Linked DNA regions of Homo sapiens: all the other regions are linked to region 3. The links are contacts of gene promoters, found by promoter capture Hi-C in blood cells and fetal thymus (Javierre and others, 2016). All regions are on one chromosome and are shown on one strand. Each heading gives the region's core, a stretch centred on a gene start or on the middle of the fragment in contact. The rest is flanking DNA. Distances are from core to core; before and after follow the strand shown.

Region 1 (2,930 bases), core at 329-2,828, 5.7 Mb before region 3:
TGTAATCCCAGCACTTTCGGAGGCCGAGACAGGCGGATCTCGAGGTCAGGAAATCGAGACCATCCTGGCCAACATGGTGAAACCCCGTCTCTACTAAAATACAAAAAATTAGCCGGGCATGGTGGTGCGTGCCTGTAGTCCCAGCTACCCGGGAGGCTGAGGCAGGGGAATCGCTTCAACCCGGGAGCCAAAGGTTGCAGTGAGCTGAGATCGCGCCAGTGCACTCCAGCCTGGAGACAGAGCGAGACTCCGTCTCAAAAAAAACAAACAAACAAACAAACAAAAAAAAACAGTTACAGAGTTTTCTCAAAATATTAAAAATTAAACTACCATCTGATCTAGGAACCCCACTTCTGGGTATTTATCCAAAATAATTAAAATCAGCACCTGGAAGAGCTATTTGCATTCCCATATTCACTGCGGCATTATTCTCAATAGCCAAGATTTGGAAACAACCTGAATGTCCACGGATGATTGGATAAAGAAAATTTGGTATATAAATACAAGGGAATATTATCCAACCTTTAAAAAGAAGGAAATTCTGCCACATATGACAACATAGATAAACCTGGAGGACACTATCCCAAGTAAAATAAGTGAGTCACAGAACAACAAATACTGCACGATCCCACTTCTCTGAGGTATCTAAAATAGTTAAACTAATAGAAAGAGAGAGAATAGTGGTTGCCAGGAGCTAGGGGAGGGGAAATGAGGAGTTGCTACTCAATAGGTATAAAGTTTCAGTTATGCAAGATGAAGATGTTCTAGAGATCTGCTGTACAACATTATGCCTGTAGTTAATAATACTGTATTGTACACTTAAAAATTTGTTAAGTGGGTAAATCTCCTGTTAAATGTTCCTGCCACAGTTAAAGAAAAAGAGAGAAAAAGAGAGTGAGAGAGACAACGATAAGCTATTGAAGGACGCTCAGTGGAAAGTGTGGTGATGTAGGCAGTTTTTATTTTTGCTTAGGATTTTGTTTGCTTGTTTACCAGTATGGTAAGCATTCTGTGAGACCATTCTTGCCTCTCATGTGGTCCTTCGTGTAACCAGGGCTGGATTTGTGCCAGTGTGCAGTGGCATTCTGACTAAATGTTAACGTTTGAGAGGCATGCACAAGGCCTACGGCTGACAATGTCTTCCTTGCTGTTTTGCAACTCCCGACATTTATCACCACTTTGAGTTAAGGTCCATATTCAAGTCAGATTGTTTCCAGATAATCATTGAGGTACTGGCATGTAACACACATTAAATAATCTCATCTGCTAACAGAGAGTAAGTGCATTTTTACATGTTTTAGAGATTAGAATTGGATCCAAATGAGGTGTAACGTAATGGCACCATGAGATCTGTGGTGGGGAAGGGTGATGGGGAGAAAAGCTTCAGCAAAAAGAGGACTAAAGTAGAAATATCAACCGCCAGCTTTCATCTGTGCCTGGGGGCGGTCCTTCCTGTGCTCGTGGCACGTGTTTATACTATGATTGACAACCCTTAAGGAGAAAGGCTAAGGTCATGAAACAAAGCTCTCTTTCCTTTTCTTTTCCCTCCCCCTACCTTTACCCCATTCCTTTCTTTTTCTGTAAAAGCTAGCTGTGATGTGTAAATGTTGCACCTGTCACCCTGACCTCATTGTAGAGCCATCTTCTGAGTAACTGGCAACTGGCAACTGATGCTAAGTGCTATGAATGCAGCTGGTGGGAACTGAACACACCAGTGTAAAAGATGAAACTAGAAGTCCTTATCTGTAAAGTGAGGGTGTCAGGCTAAGCGACCAATAAGCTTTGCTTAAGATTTTATATTTGTGAAGCATTTATATGTAAATACTTTCACTTTTTCCTCTGATCTCTAAGGAAGTGGTGTTAAGTTTGAGTTTGTCATAATTTCACAGGGTGACTCTTAGTTGAAATGTCACTGACAGCTTGCGGTTTGGACTTTTTTTTTTTTTTTTTTTTTTAACTCCAGTCAGAAACAACTAGAAGCCATTAAACAACTACAGGAAGATGCTGTCAACCAGGAAGGCATCCTTAGGAAGAGGCTCCAAGAAACCAGCCAACGGCTGGAGGATGTGGAGGAGCAGGTAGGGTGGCTCATGGCTACATTAGATTCAGGGGACATCTCCTCAGATGCCCTGCAAACCATGAAATAAAAATGGAGGAGGAACAACAACAACAAACAAAAAAAAAAAGCAAAGAGGAACTGCAAGTTCAGTCCCTAGCGACTAACAGTGAGCAGAGGAAGTAAAGGGGGAGTTGTAAGAGAGGCGGTATCAACAGCCTGCTGATGAAAGAGGCGACTCTGCAGAAAGAGGCAACTTGACATATCAGGACTTTAACCGCTGTAGAAATAGCTCAGGCATACCAAGCCCATGCAAACACAGAATTGCAGAAGTTCAGGAGAGGCTTATCACTTCCCTGAGAAGAAAAACACATTTTCAGTTTTGCCTGCATCATAAGAGTGAGCACTCCATTGCTTTCTTTCCTGGCCACACTGCTACAATCCAGCACTAACTATCCATGTCCAGGGTAAGGATCGAGATCGAGAAGCCCACACTGCCAGTGAAAAAGCTACGTCTTTACTGCATAAATTAGAGGAAGCAATTTCGGAACAACGGAACCTTCAAACTATAAATACTGAATTATCGAACACTTGCCAGGCACTTCAGCAGAAGACAAGGAAACTGAAGAGTGAGTAGCAAATATTCATTTATGACCCAGTTTTTGTCCACCCTCAGGCGGGGCATAGGACTACAGACATTTTTCTAGATTACAGCTAGGATATTATTCCTGAGTTTATGACAATGAAATGGTTTGAGAAGGCAATATTGTGGGGCTTTCAGAGAGGTTTGCTGAGTGGCTAGGTGCATGCATGGGTTTAACCATTAACTTCCCTTTTTGCCTTTTTATTATAAGCTGGTTTTGTCTGTGGCTGT
Region 2 (2,700 bases), core at 7-2,506, 5.5 Mb before region 3:
TGTTGAATGAGTGAATCTGTGGACCCTCTGTGGATTCTAAATCCTAATCCATGAACTCTGTGACTCTAAATCTTTACTTTAGACAGAGTGTCTTAAACCTCCTGTCAATCTCTGTCTTCATCTTAACAAAATCTGCTTTGAAACTTAGGTCACCTTCTGATAAGCCACATTCCGTGCAGCTCAGAGATACTTATCTCGTACATAATAGACACAAGGAATTCTTAAATGAATGAATTTGCGCTTATGTGTATGCTACTTTGTGGTCACTCAAGCATAAATCACAGATTTATTTTGTACAACATCAAGTGCATGATAAGTTCTTGTTTCCTCTTACAGCTGTGAATATGATGTTCTTCCTATAGTTGATGTTCCATACATCTTAAAAGGACTATAATATAGAAGAGGGGAAAGCTTTATATAGCACTTTTATGCTGATTATAAAAATTCTGGCATTAGCAGAAACCTAATCCATCCACATGGTCTCAGTTATCATCTAGGCTCATGATTCGTAAAGCAAATCTGCATCCAACCATTTGTTCCACGCACCCCACACTCCAGTTTTACCTCAGACACTTTCTCTTTCCTTTTCACTTCCACAGCAATTTATACATATGGTATGTCAGGTCTTTCTGCCGTTCAGTCCTGGGTACTTTCTTAGAAGCCGGCACCACCTCCTTGCAACATTACCTTTCTTTCCTTAACATAGAGGTCTCAAGGGTAAATGCTTTAGGAATCACCTGCCATGCCTACCAAAAATGCAAGTTCCTAGGCCCCTCACCCAGATATTTTATTCAGTTGGTCTAAGGTAGACCAGTAATCTTCATTTTTAGCAAATCAAATGATCCTAAACTGGTAGTTCACTGTGTGCACATTGAGAAACTCTGATGTAGATATTCAAATTCTTGGCACCTGCACTTTCTACTGTCTTCAGGGGTTCCTCTTTCTCGAGCCTGGTGGCTCCCTTGAACAGTCTCCCTGGCTCTCCCTTCCCTTGCTCTCTCCAAGGACAAGCACACTGAAGTAGCCTGTGATCACAATGGGAAAGGGGGGAGGAAATAAAAAGTATAAGCATGGGGATTCCAGGCCTGCTCTCAGCTACAACTGAAGTTTCTACCCTCTACTGTCAGACTGTCCTGGGAAGGCAGCCACGTACAAAGGTGTGCACGTACATACCCTTTTTATCTGCTGTACAGATAAAAGACCATACTGACCCTTTCTTTCACAAGAAACCCTCTTCTGCAGATAGAATTAAAGCCAGAACAACAGGAGTACCCTTATGTTACCTGGGCTCTTAGAAAAAAGGTATAAAATGCTAGGACACCCTCAGAGCACTGCAAATGCTGAGGATTTACTTTAAGGCAATAAGGACACTTTAAAAAACCCTATCATCAGGCGGAGAGCTGCTGTTCAGTCCAGCAATCAACTGCACTTGTGAGCCAGCAACAGGCTGTGGGGCCCTGCTCATCCCTTCATTAACAAGTATCCATTGCCTATGACTCTAGTAATTTTGCCATTCTCATAAATCACCATCTGTCCACTGCTTTTTCATGTAGTCTTAGCTTCTACTGCTATCTGTGCTTCTAGTGGTCACTCTCTGTGACTAACATTCAAAGCATTCCAAGAGAGAAGATCTGGCCATGTCTGTCATTCACTGTTCAATAGGAAGGGCCTTTATGGGACACAATTTTCCTGATTGGTGGCTGGCCTTCTTTATGTCTGGCTAAAAGATTATTGTGTTTGTTTGTGTGTCAACCCTGGGTCCAGACGGTTGTGGCCAGAGTAGCAGGACGCAGAGCAGGGGAACTTGAGCAGGAGGAGCCATCTACGATGCTTTCATGGACTCTACTTCAGCACAACCTTTTGACTCTGGCAGGAATTTGAACACATGAATGGGTGCTGCTTAATTCACTTACTCTGCACTTTATCCTTACTGGACACTTATTTCATTATACTTTGTATACCTTTTTTGCAAATATGTTTTCCCATAACTGCTTTACTAGGTTGTAAATTATTCCAGGCCCATTTCTTTTAATTCTATGTTTTCATAGTTCTTAGCACATTTGGGTCCTCTGTAAATATTCCTGAAGTGAATGAAATTATAACAAGCTTCAGTCCTCTCTCTTCACAGGCACTTCATTCTCATCAAACCAATTTCCTGGACCATTTCTAAATGAATATTCTGTTATCATGGCAAATGCCTGTCCAAAGCCAAATTCCCCATGTTATTCCCTCTAACGAATTCCCTCTCTCAATTCCTCCATCTTACCTGAGTGACATCATGGTCCTCCAGAACATTTAGACATGAAAACTTAATTTTTAACCCAGTCCTTATTAAAATTAGTCACAGCTCCTTTTAATTATACTTCCTGAGTATTTTCCCATATCTGCCTCTTCTGTATTCCTTCCTTCTCAGCTACATTTCTGGAATAACTTCTTCATTGACTTTCCTACCTCCTGGCTTTCTTTGTCTCAATTCAGTTTTATGATGTTGCCAAATTAACCTTTCTTCCGCATGTCTTTTATCATCATCAAACATTTACTCTGTGCCTGCTCCATATAGGCTACATGCATACTGGGTATATATTTGAACAGTGGAAAGAGTTACAAGCTAAGTACCTAATGAGTACCTAAAGATGATAAGTACCTTTAAAATTATAGGGGAAAATGATCTCTGGTCCCAGTTAAGTCTCCCCTTCCCGG
Region 3 (2,797 bases), core at 128-2,627:
GGGATGAAAAGAGTTGCACCATTGAAACAGATGAGGCTGAAGGAGGTGGGGGAAAGTTAAGTATAAAATTAGGACTAGAGGGACACAGCCAGGCAATAACTTCCCTGGAAAGTCTAGACCACTCCCTTAAACTCTTTTCCACAGAAGTGAGCTCGAAACCCAATGATGCTTGAGATACTTGTACTTCCATCCTACTTTTAAAGTAATTAGTGCCGCTAGCCAATAAGGATAGCCTTTACATAGGCAAAATCTCCCAATACGGAGGATGTTTCCAGAAATTCGATTTTCCACATAGGGAGGAAGAACTGCAACGGCTTCAGAGCTCCTTTCTTCTCATGAGGGCAGATCACATTCTAAATAATTCCCATGGCCACGTGATGACACCAAAAGAATAAGCTTTCCACACCGGGACCTAAGGCTGAGCCACTCAAACCTCTTTACATGATCCCTCACCACCAGCCCTAACCTCAATCCTGAACGTTTGGAAGAAAATCCAAACTCACAACATTCTTTTATAGCTCTAAGTGAACCAGCAGCTTCTTGAACAAGAATGCTAACTTCCCCGATTGCTCTGGGGCCTACAAGGCAATCCATCACTACTGGACATTTGCAGACAGGTACTCTCTCAACCTGCAGGAACCCCGCGTTTATTCTCAGTTGTTTGGTTTAGACTAGCCCAAAACCGCTTACACCCAACCAGTTTAAGAGCTCATTCTAGCGAGCCCTTCCCGTGCCCTAATCAGTGGCCCTTGCGCACTTACGTATCCGTCTCTCGACCTCCAAGCACCCGAGGTATCCCTTTCTCCCCCCTTAGGAGCATCCCCAAACCAAGGACAGAACAGGCCCCATGCACGCCAGCGCGCACCCCCTCAAGTCTCCGGGGGAGCCTGAGCGAAGAGCACCTCTCCCGAGCGGCCACGGAGAGCCCTGCAGGCACCGACCCCCACCCTTCCCACAGCCGCCCCGGGTACGCAGAAGCCGCTTCTGCAAGGCCCCGGGGGAGGCTGACCTGCGGAAAACGCACCGACCGCGGCCCTCGGGAGCCCCGCCCCGCCCCGGGGATGCCAAGCCGCCCCTCCACCTCGCAGCGGCGCCGGCCGCCCAGACCTGCCCACCCTCGCCGGGTCAGCCGCCTCCCTCCGCCGCGCCGACCGAGGCCGCCGCAGCCCGACTTCACCTCCCCAGGCAGCCGAGGCCGCCGCTGCCGCAGCCCGGGCCCGCCTTCCAAAGCCTGGGGGAGGCAGGAGCGCTGCGGAGGTGGACCGGCGCCACCCCGCACTCGCGTCTCCTCCTCCTGTCTCCTCCCTCTCCCCTCCCGGTCCTCGCCCGCGGCCTCTGCGGCGCCAGAGACCCAGCCGACTCAGCCGCTCGCGCCCAGGCCCGCCCACCGCGCCGCGCGTGGCTTTTGTAGGCCGCGCCCCGCCCCGGCCCGCTCCGCCCTCGGCCGCCCCGCCACCGCCTCCTTCCGGTGCTCCTTCCCGGCTGCAGCTGGCCGCCAGCGCTTGTCGGGTGTTAGTTCCGGGCCCAGCTTGGGCTGGTGGTAGGTCGGGAGAGGGCGCGGTCTCCCAGCCTTTGCGCAGATTGCGGGGCACCAGGTGGGGCCGAGGCGACGCCGAACGCCGGCAGGCCGGAAACCGCGCAGCCCCGCTGGACCTCGCTGATTGCCGGCGGCACCGGTGGTTTCGCGACCTTGAACAGGTGACTCCAATAGCTCCAGGAGGGCAGCGAGCCCTTCGCGGAACTACCAGATAAGCCATGCTTGAGGCTGTCGTAGCCTAGTGGGTAGTCGTGAAATGCAGATGCGCCTTTGCCCCTCAGATAGCATCTTTCATAGTAGGATGGGGAAAAAACACCGTTTCCTTACCGGGGAATCAGCCTGTAAGAGCAGAATGCCCCAAATCAGCATCGCCATAAAAACGGAGTAGGTGACTTCGCAACCTGCAATAATAGGATTGAGTTTATTCAAGCCGTATTATTTGTTCATGTGACACACATTAATTGACTGGCACGCAGAGAAAGCTGTAAAAAATCTTTGTAAGGTTACATAAAATTAAGAGAAAAGTCTGGAAATATGTAAAAGTTTATTGAGGAAAGGAAGGTGTTTCTGATACCAAATAAGAAACACACACACACACTCAGCAATACTTTGCCCCAACATGTGTTTACTTATTACACCAAGTGGAGTTTTTTAGGTCCTGATTGTCCCTGACGCTCTGATAAAAAATATTGAGACTAGCAAAAGAACAGAAAATTCAGAAGAAGAATCAAGGAAACAAAGGTCTAGTTTTAAAAGCCTTGGTCAACTTCACACAAATTAATTTTAACATTACTTAATACATTTTTTTGGCATCTATTATCCGTGTTCTTTTCGGTCCCTGGTGACATAATGTACCCTAATGTTGCATTTTAACTTTGAATCTCTGAATCCCATATGTGTTCTTCAGGGTCAGAGAAATACTAGATTTTCCCTTTTTCTCATTGTTTATAAACAGAGAAACGCAGAAGATGCTGAACATGAGGAGAGGAAGGCTATGCCTTCACCTTTGGTAACACAAAAAACAGTGGCCATAAGAAAAAATGTGAAGGACACACTGTTGGATCAATGAGTTGACACAAAGTTACAGCACAGCCTGAGTTGTAGTCCGAGCTAATGATGAACCTAAAAATGGTATTTCAGTCAGATTAATCATGAAATGTTTGCCCCCTGCCGGCGCAGTGGCTCAAGCCTGTGATCCCAGCACTTTGGGAGGCCGAGGCGGGGTGGATCACCTGAGGTCGGGAGTTCGAGGCCAGGCTG

What was found. Contacts are between HindIII fragments. The CHiCAGO score rates a contact against its expected background, and 5 or more counts as called.
Region 1: a contact is called between a fragment that was not itself captured here and the fragment with the promoter of CAPRIN2 in region 3, in 1 of 17 cell types (non-activated CD4 T cells). The highest score is 7.3, in non-activated CD4 T cells.
Region 2: a contact is called between a fragment that was not itself captured here and the fragment with the promoter of CAPRIN2 in region 3, in 1 of 17 cell types (naive CD8 T cells). The highest score is 5.1, in naive CD8 T cells.

What each region holds. Positions count from the first base shown.
Region 1 is chr12:25,050,272-25,053,201 of GRCh38, forward strand. IRAG2 (inositol 1,4,5-triphosphate receptor associated 2) reads left to right here and starts at 2,435. Exons shown (of 22, transcript NM_001366544.2): 1 at 2,435-2,685. RefSeq lists enhancers at 1,790-1,899, 1,940-2,309. The HindIII fragment of the contact is 399 bases long and covers 1,380-1,778 here.
Region 2 is chr12:25,252,965-25,255,664 of GRCh38, forward strand. No RefSeq gene overlaps it. Among named protein-coding and RNA genes, the nearest start is that of KRAS, 3.4 kb to the left of the region's middle. The HindIII fragment of the contact is 1,695 bases long and covers 410-2,104 here.
Region 3 is chr12:30,753,574-30,756,370 of GRCh38, forward strand. CAPRIN2 (caprin family member 2) reads right to left here and starts at 1,378. Exons shown (of 19, transcript NM_001385503.1): 1 at 1,178-1,378. LOC645485 (a long non-coding RNA gene) reads left to right here and starts at 1,501. Exons shown (of 2, transcript NR_135046.1): 1 at 1,501-1,698. RefSeq lists enhancers at 752-831, 835-1,004 and silencers at 932-1,611, 2,703-2,797. The HindIII fragment of the contact is 2,894 bases long and covers 395-2,797 here.